Linked DNA regions of Homo sapiens: regions 2 and 3 are each linked to region 1. The links are contacts of gene promoters, found by promoter capture Hi-C in blood cells and fetal thymus (Javierre and others, 2016). All regions are on one chromosome and are shown on one strand. Each heading gives the region's core, a stretch centred on a gene start or on the middle of the fragment in contact. The rest is flanking DNA. Distances are from core to core; before and after follow the strand shown.

Evidence for each region. The method cuts DNA at HindIII sites, captures the fragments that hold promoters and counts their contacts. A CHiCAGO score of 5 or more calls a contact.
Region 2: a fragment that was not itself captured here is called in contact with the fragment with the promoter of HSPB3 in region 1 in 7 of 17 cell types (neutrophils, naive B cells, total B cells and 4 more); the score reaches 7.8 in neutrophils.
Region 3: a contact is called between a fragment that was not itself captured here and the fragment with the promoter of HSPB3 in region 1, in 1 of 17 cell types (neutrophils). The highest score is 5.3, in neutrophils.

What each region holds. Positions count from the first base shown.
Region 1 is chr5:54,454,401-54,458,840 of GRCh38, forward strand. It overlaps HSPB3 (heat shock protein family B (small) member 3), which reads left to right and starts at 1,299. Exons shown (of 1, transcript NM_006308.3): 1 at 1,299-1,977. The coding sequence starts at 1,390. The coding sequence ends at 1,842. The HindIII fragment of the contact is 1,443 bases long and covers 283-1,725 here.
Region 2 is chr5:54,874,283-54,878,779 of GRCh38, forward strand. It overlaps the pseudogene LOC100130574. Among named protein-coding and RNA genes, the nearest start is that of ESM1, 110 kb to the right of the region's middle. The HindIII fragment of the contact is 372 bases long and covers 2,693-3,064 here.
Region 3 is chr5:54,914,955-54,919,735 of GRCh38, forward strand. No RefSeq gene overlaps it. Among named protein-coding and RNA genes, the nearest start is that of ESM1, 68 kb to the right of the region's middle. The HindIII fragment of the contact is 468 bases long and covers 1,708-2,175 here.

The DNA of each region.
Region 1 (4,440 bases), core at 49-2,548:
ACTCCAGCTTGGGTGACAGAGCAAGACTCTGTCTCAAAAAAAAAAAAAGTATAAACACTAGCATATCATATATTGCCCTGGACTTTTCTTTTTGATTTAACATATCTTGGAGATTCTTCCATAGCTGTGGATAAGGAGTTGCCTCATTCTTTTTCAGGGTAAGTTTAGTATAAAGGGTGATATAGTGGGGAAATTATATTTAATTTATTTTTGCCAACTCAGTAGCAGAGCTGTGACAAGATTAATCCTTAGATTTTTGGAGGTTCATATCAAATCATTCAAAGCTTTGACATTTTTCTCTTCTTTGTGGCTCTATTTTCATCACTAAAATTCCCCATCCTATGCCCCTGCAGCCCCCATCTGACGTTTGTCACTTCTCTAGCTTAGTCATCTGATCTAATTTTGATGAGTCAGATGTAAATAAACCCAGATAATGTGTCTTTTAGCCCAAAAGACTAAAAGATAAAATAAAAGGAAATGCATAGGACACAGGGCAGTTTGTTGAATGGCTGAGATTTGAATATGTGTGTATTAATTCTTTCTGAATTACAGCTAGATTCTGCCCTCCCCAGCTTTGTATCTGGAGACGAGGGAAAATGTGATCCCAGTTCATATTATGAGTGAACATCTCTGACTGTTCTAAGAAGTCCTATTCCCTTAGATTACTGAAGTTCACAGGGAGAAAGCACCCACCCAGATATTTTTGGTTTTTGTTTGTTTGTTTGTTTGTTGAGATGGAGTCTCACTCTATTGCCCAGGCTAGAGTGCAACGGTATGGTCTTGGCTCGCTGAAACCTTTGCCTCCTGGTTCAAGCGATTCTCCTACCTCAACCTCCCAAGTAGCTAAGATTTCAGACATAAGCCACCATGCCCAGCTAATTTTTGTGTTTTTAGTACAGACAGGGTTTCACCACATTGTTCAGGCTGGGCTTGAACTCCTGACCTCAGGCGATCCACCCGCCTCAGCCTCCCGAAGTGCTGGGATTACAGGCATGAGCCACCGCACCTGGCCTCACCCAGATATTTTTCAAATACCATTTTCGATTCCCACTCTCTTTCTTGAAGTAAGCAAGGCAGACACATTTGCCAAGGATAACTGAGAATGTAAGGGCAATCCATGACTGGGCAGCTTGTGCAGGCTGTGTGCTAAATGCACTGGGAAACATGCCCTATAAATAGCCGTTCATTGTCAGCATGTGTGAAAAGACAAGAGAGCATTCCGTGCTATGATTCAGGCCTAATTAAGTGATTGCGTCTGGGCACGGCTATAAACCACTAGCTGCTTCAACTGGTAATCCAGTCAGTAGGCAACTGCAGGGGCTCGCCACTGACTGAAGGCAGTGGAAGGTTGGCAGAAGGAGGCTGTTCAAGGCTGTTTTTGCCTTCACTATGGCAAAAATCATTTTGAGGCACCTCATAGAGATTCCAGTGCGTTACCAGGAAGAGTTTGAAGCTCGAGGTCTAGAAGACTGCAGGCTGGATCATGCTTTATATGCACTGCCTGGGCCAACCATCGTGGACCTGAGGAAAACCAGGGCAGCGCAGTCTCCTCCAGTGGACTCAGCGGCAGAGACGCCACCCCGAGAAGGCAAATCCCACTTTCAGATCCTGCTGGACGTGGTCCAGTTCCTCCCTGAAGACATCATCATTCAGACCTTCGAAGGCTGGCTGCTGATAAAAGCACAACACGGAACCAGAATGGATGAGCACGGTTTTATCTCAAGAAGCTTCACCCGACAGTACAAACTACCAGATGGTGTGGAAATCAAAGATTTGTCTGCAGTCCTCTGTCATGATGGAATTTTGGTGGTGGAAGTAAAGGATCCAGTTGGGACTAAGTGACATCGTATCGGTTCCTGTTCAGATGACATGGGGAAGATGATGGTTCAGCCACTGGTACTACGAGAATGTTTGTATTACCCACATTTGAAATGATTTGCTATGATTTTTATGAAGATTAAAAATATATACACAGTTCCTGGTATGTTGAGGTTGTCTTTATTATTCTTACTCAGAAAGGAAAATTTGTAAATATGTTTGTGTGGCTCAAACTGATACTATTCTTACAACTGAAACATTGAAAATACAGAAGGCTGTATTTGGATATTAGAGAGGACTCCGAATTGTTTCTTATTATTCCAACAATGCCAGCTGCATTTGTAATCACTGATGGCAAAAGAGCTATACCCATTTAAGGAATTCCTATCCATTTTATGAAAATCTTTTATTTTGCCAAAAAGAGTTGTGATTCCCTTCACTCGATAAGCTTTTCTTTTTAATGTATTTTAATTAAAATGAGGTTTTATAAATATGGAGTGCAAAAATTAAAATACAGTATTTGGAAATTGGGTCTGATATCTATTTATGATTTAGTATAGTTGTTACTGCCTTAAAGGTCAATGGGAATTTTCAGATATAAATCTTATTTTTAAAAAGTTCAAATATGTACCTCATTCATCTTTTTAAAGATATACTGAATCCTATCTGAAGTGTTTTGACTTTTTAAAGATAGTATAAGTTCTATGGACACGTACAAAATGTTCATGAGATATGTATTTACATATCCTCTTGTAAATTAATATGAAGCTTAAGGACACCACTTTTAAAAGTTTGATTGCTGAATTCAGTGAGTTTTAATCTGTGCTTTTTAGATGCTCCATAAACTTAGATGGCAAAATGTAACACATCTGCTATCTCTGCATAATCCTTAGCTTTAAATAGCCTGGCAGCCAATGGAAGTTCAACACCTGAGCTTACACTGCGTGTCTGAGTTTACACAGCACATCTGATGATTGGTGCTTATTATATTCTCCCAAACTACTGCCTTGGCTCAAGGTGGAGACATTGGTAGAGGTTAAGGACTAGTGCCTTCAACAGCTGCTCTGGGACATTCCAAAGGTTTGCTATCTCATTCTGTATACATTAAGTATTTCTTCAGAGGCAGTGGCTGCCTGCCTTTTACCCCGCACTGAATGTGAGCTGACAAGCAGCCCAAGGACAGTGCTAAGAATAGACATGGAATGCAGGGTGTGGAAAACACCAGGGCAAATGCAGATTGCTGACAGTATCCCAGTACTCCCCCACGTTGTTTTACTGTAGCTCAAGTTAAAATGTAAAAGACATGAAGCAATAGAAAAACGAATCAAACAGTTCTAAAAGTTATTTTGAAAACAAATGTAATCTGAGAAGAATGTTTACTGTCTAATTAAATTGAAAAGATTTTGCAGTTATATGCATATCTGAGGTTTATGCCTATACATGGAGGTTTGTGTGTCCAACTCAGATATGAAAAATTTTGTTTGACCAAGTGAATATCACAGATCAGCTTGGCTGCATAACAAAGTTAATAGCAGTCGTTGAGATTCCAGATCTACTAATATGATCAGAACTGGGATACCATTTGTCTGGATTATCATTCTTTCCCAGTGATTGGCAGAATAGTGTGAAAAGAAACTAATGTGGTGAGAAACAAAAAAACCCTCTCTTTCGGCCTTGATCTTACTCTAGATGAGATCCTCCTCCCGGGAAAATTCAGGAGGTGAAATTCCTACCATGAGGAGCCACTGATAGAAAATATTCTCTTTAAAAATAAAATTAAAGTAAACACATGTCTAATGAGCTCTTGTTTTTACAAGATAAATTTTAAAGTCTTATAGATAAGATATAGATAAGTTTTAAAGATAAATTTTAAAGTCTTATAGCCATTTTTTTGATTTGGGAAATATACCAAACACTATAAATAATAAAAATCATCTATGGTTCTTCTGCTACCATGAGGCAGCTATTTTAAATATCTTGTTCAACAACAGGACTACATAAATACATGTATCACTTTTCACAAAATTAGGATTATATCTGTATGGAGTTTGATATCCTGATTGTACTGGCTACTGTCTGTTGCCCTCCCCACTCCCACCAAGTCAAACCATTCTCTGCCCTTCTCAGCCCCACTCTGAGCCCAAGCAGGCTGACCCTGATGGGCCACATCATTCTAGTTTCTGGTTGGGTTCAGCCAATAAGAGGCACTGACTGGAGACCAGAGATTGCAGAGAGATTAGTGGGCAAGAGGGGAGAATGGTCAGGGAATTCTTCTGTCGCCCTTAACCTGCTGCAGACCAAGGCCCTGTCAGGGCTGCATCCTTCTATGACTGAGTTCCTCCAGGGCTGCCACTCTCACAGGGCTTAGGGTTGTAACACTGTCTCTTCCTTTCGTCTGTTCAAAAGGAGGAGGAGGGGTGACTCTCTGCTCTTTCTTGTACCCTGTGTGTCACTATCCCTTATTGATTCTCCTTACTTTGCCCACTCTCTCATAAATGGTCCTTTAGGCAATGGAATTGTTTTCTGCCAGAACTCTGATTGTTTGACCTTTTAATCAATTGCAGAGTAAATGCATGTGATAGCAAACATTTAAGCATACCTTTAGAAAGACCCAGTACGGTA
Region 2 (4,497 bases), core at 1,629-4,128, 420 kb after region 1:
TAGAACTAGAATGTAGAGCTCAGGTCATTAAAGTTGACAGATGGCAATTACATACCCACTGACCAGCTGAGTTTATCCTCCAGGCCTTCCCATTACTGAATGCCCCCACCTCAATTTCTGACAGACTCAGAGGCTGTATTGTTAAGTTTTCAAAACCAGGAAATGTTTTCTAAATCATAAAAGCTACCGCTGAGAATGACTAAGTAACATTAATAAACAATATCCCTATATTTTCCCACGTTTCACCTCTCTGGCACTAAATCAATTCTAGTCCCAGCTGGTGGCCAGAAATTTCCATTGCCTCTGGGGAAAAGCAAGGAACTAGGTTAAAACCTGGTTTGACAGCCTAAAGCCAGTTCATGTCCTCACATACCCCTAAGTAGATCCTATCTTTTGCAGCCCCTAGTAAGTGTCTCAAAATAATAATAAAGAGCAAATAGAAACACGAGTGAAATTGGCTCCTGGAAAAAGAAACGTGATCCCTACATTCAGCGAAGAAAAAGTGTGATTTCAGTATTAGTGAAACAAAGTTGAGCAATAATCAGATAACCTCCTGGTTTTGCATGCTTACAGAAATGAGGAAATGGTTGAGTGGCAGCCAGAGTCTTCCGTTGGTAAAATATATAAAACATTTAGACTGCTCTGCAATTTCTCCCAGGAAGGTGATTATTTTATTCATTATATCCTCCTTAGAATTGGTTCCCATTCCTTCTTCCAAATTACATCTCTCCGGTTTTTTGTTTTATTTTGGTTCTATGCTTTTGTTGTTTGGCTTACTATTTATAGAGTGCCTACTATGTGCCAGGTATTGTCAGGAGTTGAAGATGCAGAATCAATGAAACAAAGAGGCCTGCAGCCTACCAAAGAAGAAAGCCACTTGGAAAGAAGAGTGTGCACCCAAGTGATATTAGAAAGTTGGTCCATCAGAAGCACCTCCAGGGCCACCTGAGGTATAAGGGAAGGAGCAATCCAACTATAAAGTGTCTCTCCCTATCCCTAATCTCTAAAGTGAGATTAATGACTTCACTTGGAAAGGGGCAGATTTAAGTGGCCGTCCTATGCATGGGTTATTCTGTCCACAAGTGATACCAAGCATCTTATTTAGTACTGAGGATTCAATGGTGAACATGAGAGACTGCTAATCAAGTTATTACAGTTGCTTGATTATTAATTGAAAAACACACAACAGAAGCACGGGGCCTAATCAAGGGAGGCGGAGTCAGAGGGTTTCAGGCAATGGCTTCTGGAAAGACCTGAGCAATGGAGCAGACAGGAAGACAGGAAAGAAGGGAGAGAGTGTTGCAGGAAGTCAAGGACCCCAAACGGAGGGACCGACTGAAGCCATGACAGAAGAACGTGGATTATGAAGATTTTATGGACACTTATTAGTTCCCCAAATTAATACTTTTGTAATTTCTTATGCCTGTCTTTACTGCAATCTCTAAACATAAATTGTAAAGATTTCATGGACACTTATCACTTCCCCAATCAATATCCTTGTGATTTCCTATGCCTGTCTTTGCTTTAATCTCTTAATCCTGTCAGCCGAGAAGGATGTATATCGTCTCAGGACCCTGTAATAATTGCGTTAACTACACAAATTGTACAGCATGTGTGTTTGAGCAATATGAAATGTGGGCACCTTGAAAAAAGAACAGGATAAGAGCAATTGTTCAGGGAATAAGAGAGATAACCTTAAACTCTGACCGCCAGTGAGCCGGGCGGAACAGAGCCATATTTCTCTTCTTTCAAAAGCAAATGGGAGAAATATCGATGAATTCCTTTTCTCAGCATGGAACGTCCCTGAGAAAGAGAATGCGCACCTAGGAGTAGGTCTCTGAACTGGCCCCCCCGGGGCGTACCTGTCTCTTATGGTCGAGATTGCAGAGGTGAAATAAACTCCAGTCTCCCATAGTGCTCCCAGGCTTATTAGGAAGAGGAAATTCCCACCTAATAAATTTTGGTCAGACCGGTTGATCTCAAAACCCTGTCTCCTGATAAGATGTTATCAATGACAGTGGTGCCCAAAACTTCATTAGCAATTTTAATTTCGCTTCGGTCCTGTGGTCCTGTGATCTCGCCCTGCCTCCACTTGCCTTGTGATATTCTATTACCCTGTTAAGTACTTGATGTCTGTCACCCACACCTATTCGTATACTCCCTCCCCTTTTGAAACTCCCTAATAAAAACTTGCTGGTTTTTGTGGCTTGTGGGGCATCACGGATCCTACCAATGTGTGATGTCTCCCCTGGACGCTCAGCTTTAAAATTTCTCTCTTTTGTACTCTGTCCTTTTATTTCTCAAGCCAGTCGACACTTAGGAAAATAGAAAAGAACCTACGTGATTATCGGGGCAGGTCCCCTGATAAGAGAGGTGAACACAAGCACCTGAAAGTCCAGTCTGGCTGAGGGCAGTGTTAGGAGGACAGCTAGGGTGGAGGCTGAGGGGTGTGTGAGGGGTCACGGGGCAAACGTCAGAGAACAAACCCCACCTTGTCCTTCTGAAAGGCCTTCTCTGGCCACTCTGTTTAAAGTGCCCTCACACACAGACATGCAAATGCACACAGGTCGATGGCTGGCTACTCCTTTCAAGGCCCTTATCATAATCTCTAATTACTTTCTTTATTTGCTTTCTTATTATCCAGCCCCAAGACCACACCACCCCAAATAAAATGTAAGATTCTGAGGTCAGAAGCTTTTGTTAGTCTTGATCACTGCCTAATTTTCAGTGCCTAGAACAAGTGCCTGGCAAACAGTACTCACTAAATAAATGCTGGTCTTGGAAAGCAAGTTAAAGAATTCAGACTCCATCCGCAAAGAGGGCTAGATAGGGAGCAAATAGGGACATTCATGATCAGATTGCAGTTTAGGAGATGACTGGCTGAAACGCAGACTCTCAGCAAGTAGCTGGGTCTAGGGAAAGGGAGGAGAAAGGGTGTGTTCAAGAAATATTTAGATAGGATTGTCAGGGTAGGGAGAAGGGAGAGGACAAAGGGGCAATCCAGATCAATTTCTAGGTTTCAGGCTTAGTATCTACTTACTGAGACAGGGAACCTGGGAGGAGAAGCTTTGGTTTCATTTTGTGTTGTTTTGTTGATGTATATGTGACAAGAAATTCTCACTGAACTTTTGGGGAGCAAGCAAATGACTCACCAACTGGATCCCCTTGGACAGGGAGGGCCTTATGAACTATGTTAAGGAGGTTGAACCTTATTCTGAAAACAATAGGCAAGCATCAAATGATTTTCATTTGAAGAGAGACAGATCTGTTTGGGGTTTTAGAAAGATCAATCAGTCTCATAGCTATGTGAGTTCAAAACTAGCGCAGGATGGAAACTGATTAGGAAAGTATTTCAAAAAAGATTTTAGATCACCTTTCACTGAAAATTAGAATTACCTTTTTGTATCATATTTTCGCTAATTTTATAATTGTGCCTCTTTGTGTATTGCTATTCTTCCAAATATATTCTGCAGATATCATAATTATAACTTATTTTTAAAATTTAAAAAAATAAAAACTTCTGTGATAAATTATTTGCATTACACAAAGTCCTAAGATGAGGTCTTAAGAGGAGGTCTTGCATTAATAAAGCAGCTCTTACTTCTGTTGTGTCATCTGAGATTAGTGACTTCACTTGGAAAGGAACACCACACTTTGCATTACAAATCTATCCTTAAGAATCTCAGCTGGACTAGGTGGCTCACGCCTGTAATCCCAGCACTTTGGGAGGCCGAGGCAGGCAGATCACCTGCGGTCAGGAGTTCAAGACCAGCCTGGCCAACATGGCAAAACCCCATCTCTACCAAAAATATAAAAAATTAGCAGGGCATGGTGGTGTCCTGGCTGCTGCTTGGGACCATGTGCAGGGCTGTCCTCTGGACTCTGGAAGCTGCACTCTGCAGTTTGAGGTCAATAAACGGAAACTGCCACAATTTTTATACTGCTATTTCTAAAGATGTCACTTATAAGGAACTTAAAAAACCTATTGAATTCTAAAAATATCATATTAATTGATGTTAGAAAGACACGGGAAATTCTGGAGTATGGAAAAATCCCTGGGTCTATCAATATACCATTGGATGAGGTAGGTGAAGCTCTACAGATAAACCCAAGAGACTTCAAAGAGAAATACAATGAAGTAAAGCCATCCAAATCTGGCAACTTGGTGTTTTCTTTTTCAGCTGGAGTGAGAAGCAAGAAGGCTCTGGGCACTGCAATATCGCAGGGCTTTCACAGTGCTCAACACTATGCTGGAGGATGGAAAGAGTGGGTAACCTATGAATTTTCAGAGAAGAGACAAGGAATTTGAATTTTTGGAATACAAGTTGCCTCTTTCCTTGCGTACATGCAGCCTAGGATAGTGGAATGAGCAAAATAATAAAAATCTAGTTCTGGCACCACCGATTATGGAAAGGGGATTTTTGTATAAGTCAGCTAGTTGTTGAATCATATTCTCATCTGTAAACTGAAAATGCCACTCTCCCCTGAGATGATGCA
Region 3 (4,781 bases), core at 692-3,191, 460 kb after region 1:
GTCAGCATCCACTGGCTTTTGGGCTTTCCCAAATGTCAAACACTTCAGGGACAATTTCCTTCTTTTTTCTCCTGTTTTACATCCCTGAAATGGACCAAGGGCACTTTTTTTTTCACCTGTGATTCAGTACTGATTCATTTTTTTCTCTATTTCATGCTATTACCTTTGCTATTCTCTTTGGCTGAAGTTGTCTACCTTATCCTATAATTTTCTGAAGTTTAGACTTTCCCTACCAGATGACTTATTCAATAGAAAATGGCAATTATACGCGGTTCATTTTATTAATTGTAATCAAAGTATGGGATCAAGTTTGAAATATTGGCTGTATGAATGAAACTTCAGGGTCTCTGAAAATGTGACTCACTGTAGCTGACAATTGTTTAGCCAGGGTGCAGGGTCCATAACCTTCCCTCCTTCATTCCTTTAACCTTCTGCATATAAACAGATGCCATTAGAATGTTGTGTTGGTTGATGGCATAACTACTCACCACACTGGGACACTTTTGAGAGAGAAAGAAAGCACTAAAATAATTAATAAGCATTAATTGAGCTCCAGCAGGTGTAAACTGGTACTGTCCTGGACAAATCAAGGTGTAAAGCTATTTAATTATTGCATATCCTGAAGCATTCTTGTAATGGCCGTCATCTGGCCCAGTGAGCCAAGGCTGTGTCTGACCTGCTGAACCAGGTCAAACAAACTGTAGGACTGTACAGAGTATATTTTCATTTTTATGCACAGATAAGGCTTTCCAAGCAAAGGAAACTAAAACCCGGTTTAGAGGACAAACCTTAGAAGTTAAAGGGTGTTAGATCTGAAGCCATCTGTTCCCATTAACAGGACAAATAAAATTTATATCTTCAGGAGCCAAATATTTACATTCCAGGGTAGGAACTTTCCCCTTTCTCTTCCTGTAAGAATTTATTTACATTCAAAAGACTATAAATGACTAGGGAGCACAGATTTTTCTCTTTCTCTAAGAAAGAGGGAGGGAAAAACAGCCATCATGCTCCTACAGAAACGGACAGATTCATAATTTGGGGGTTCCTCTTCTGTGGTGCAAAAAGCCTCTTTTGTACATGCATGGGGATTTTGATGGGGATTATATTGAATCTGTAAGTCAATTTGGGAAGTATTGTCATCTTAACTATATTAAGTATCGCAATCCATGAACATGAGATGTCTTTCTAATTATTTAGGTCTTTAATTTATTTCAGCAATGTTTTCTAGTTTTCAGTGTACGTAAGTCTTGCTCTTCCTTGGTTAAATTTATTTCTAAGTATTTTATTATTTTTGATATTATTGCAACTGGAGTTGTTTTCATAATTTCCTTCTTGAGTTGTACATTATTGGCTGTACAAAAATACACCCATTTTTGTACATCAATTTTAAATCCTGAAAACTTGCTGAATGAACTCAGTTATTGGCTCAGGTTTTTGGTGAATTCTTTAGAGCTTTTTTTAAATCTGTAAGACCATGTCATCTTCAAATAAAGATTGGTTTTATTTCTCTTAAATTGATTTTATTCCTTCTCTTCCAACCTGAATGCATCTTGTTTCTTTTCTTACCTAATCAGACTGGCTAGAATCTTTAGTATAATGCTGAACAGAAGTGGTGAGAGCAAATTGTGTTGGCTAGAACCTCTAGCATGATGCTAAACAGAAGTGGTAAGAGCAAACATCCTCCTCTTCTTCCTGATCATAGGGGAAAGCTTTAAGTCTTTCACTTTTAAGTGTATTAGCTGTGGGTTTTTCATAGGTGCCCTTCATCAAATTGAGCAAATTCTCTTCTTTCCCAGTTTGCTGAGTAATTTTTTTAAAATCATAAAATGGTGTTAAATTTTGTTGGAGTATTTTTTGGTATCTATTGAGATTATCATGGTTTTCTTTCAATTTTTTTCTATTAATATAGTGTATTACATTGATTGATTTTCATATGGTGAGCCAACCTTGTTTTCCTGGGATAAATTTCACTTGGTTGTGGTATATGATTCTTTTTATATATTGCTAGATTCAGCTTGCTAGTATGTTGTAGAGGATTTTTGCATCTCTATTAATTGGTAATATTGGCAGGTAGTCTCCTTTTTTGTGATGTCCTTATCTGATTTTGAAATCATGGTAATCTGACCTCATCAAATTAATTGGGAATAATTCCCTCCTCTTCCATTTTTTGGGAAAAGCTTGGGAAGGATTGGTGTTAATTCTTGTTTAAATATGTGGTGGAATTCACCAGTAAAGCCATCTGGTCCTGAACTTTAATTCGTGAGTTAAAAAAAATGAATAACACAATCTCTTTACTTGTTATAGGCCTATTTAGATTTTCTGTGTCTTCTTGAGTCAATGTTGGTAGTTTGTGTCTTTATAGGAATTTGTTCATTTTACCTAGGTTATCTAATTTGTTGGCATACACTTGTTATTAGTATTCTCTTATAATCCTTTGTATTTCAGTAATGTCCCCTAGTTTTGGTTTTTTACAGTAATAGTTTACATTATTGACTCAAGATTTTTCTTCTTTTAAATGTAGATATTTACAAGTATAAATTTCCTTCTGAGCATTATTTTTTTTGCTGATTCCATAAATTTGGGTGTTTTGTGTTTTTATTTGCATTCATCTCAAATAATTTTTGAATTGCTCTTTTGATTTCTTCTTTGACCAACTGGTAATGTAAAACTGCTCTTAATTTCCACACATGTATAAGTTTCCCAGAATATTTTATTTTATTGATTTCTAATTTCATTCTATTGTCATTGGAAAACAGACTTGGTATGATTTCAATTCTTTTTAAATTATTGAGATGATTTTATGTTGTAAAAGATGTTCTATTCTGGATAATTTTCCATGTGCACTTAAGAATAATGTGCCTTAGGTTGGACCCATCTGACAAAGGGCTAATATCCAGAATCTACAAAGAACTTAAACAAATTTATAAGAAAAATTCAAACAATCCCATCAAAAAATGGGCAAAGGATATGAACAGACACTTCTCAAAAGAAGACATTTATGCAGCCAACAGACACATCTCATCATCACTGGCCATCAGAGAAATGCAAATGAAAACCACAATGAGATACCACCTCAAACCAGTTAGAATGGCAATCATTAAAAAGTCAGGAAACAACAGGTGCTGGAGAGGATGTGGAGAAATAGGAATGCTTTTACACTGTTGGTGGGAGTGTAAACTAGTTCAACCATTGTGGAAGACAGTGTGGCGATTCCTCAAGGATCTAGAACTAGAAATACCATTTGACCCAGCCATCCCATTACTGGACATATACCCTAAGGATTATAAATCATGCTGCTATAAAGACACATGCACACGTATGTTTATTGTGGCACTATTCACAGTAGCAAAAACTTGGAACCAACCCAAATGTCCATCAGTGATAGACTGGATTAAGAAAATGTGGCACATATACACCATGGAATACTATGCAGCCATAAAAAAGGATGAGTTCATGTCCTTTAGAGGAACATGGATGAAGCTGGAACCCTTCATTCTGAGCAAACTATCACAAGGACCGAAAACCAAACACTGCATGTTCTCACTCACATTTGGGAATTGAACAATGAGAACACATGGACACAGGGTGGGGAACATCACACACCGGGGCCTGCGGGGGGGTGGGGGGAGGGGGGAGGGATAGCATTAGGAGATATACCTAATGTAAATGATGAGTTAATGGGTGCAGCACACCAATATGGCACATGTATACATATGTAACAAACCTGCATGTTGTGCACGTGTACCCTAGAACTTAAAGTAAAATAATAAATAAATAAATAAATAAATAAATAAATAGAAAGAAAGAAATCTGACAGAATCCAAAAAAAAAAAAGAATAATGTGTAGGTTGGAGGATTCAAGATGGCCAAATAGGAACAGCTCTGGTCTGCAGCTCCCAGCAAGATCGATGCAGAAGAGAGGTGATTTCTGCATTTCCAACTGAGGTACCTGGTTCATCTCACTGGGACTTGTTGGGCAGTGGGTGCAGCCCATGGAGGGTGAGCTGAAGCAGGGTGAGGCATCACCTCATCTGGGAAGCACAAGGGGTCAGGGAATTTTCTCCCCTACCCAAGGGAAGCCATGAGGTTCTGAGCCTGAGGAACTCCAGCATAGATACTGCACTTATGCCACGGTCTTCACAACCTGCAAACCAGGAGATTCCCTCCAGTGTCTACCCCACCAGGGCTCTGGGTTTCAAGCACAAAACTGGGTGGCCAATTGGGCAGGCACTGAACTAGCTGCAGGAGCTCATTTTTTTCCCCATACCCCAGTGGTGCCTGGAATGCCAGCAAGACAAAACTGTTCACTCCCCTGGACAGGGGTGCTGAAGCCAGGGAGCCAAGTGGTCTGGCTTGGCGGGTCCCACTCCCATGGAGCCCAGGAAACTAAGATCCACTGGCTTGAAATTCTCACTGCCAGCACAGCAGTGATCTGAGAGTGGAAGAAAGGATATCGGTGACTGAAGATCAAATTAATGAAATAAAGTGAGAAGACAAGATTAGAGAAAAAAGGGTGAAAAGAAACAAACAAAGCCTCCAAGAAATATGGGACTATGTGAAAAGACCAAATCTACATTTGATTGGTGTTCCTGAAAGTGATGGGGAGAATGGAGACAAATTAGAAAACACTCTTCAGGATATTATCCAGGAGAAATACAGAGAACACCACAAAGATACTCCTTGAGAAGAGCAACCCAAGACACATAATCATCAGATTCACCAAGGTTGAAATGAAGAAAAAAATGTTAAGGGCAGCCAGAGAGAAAGGTCGAGTTTCCCCA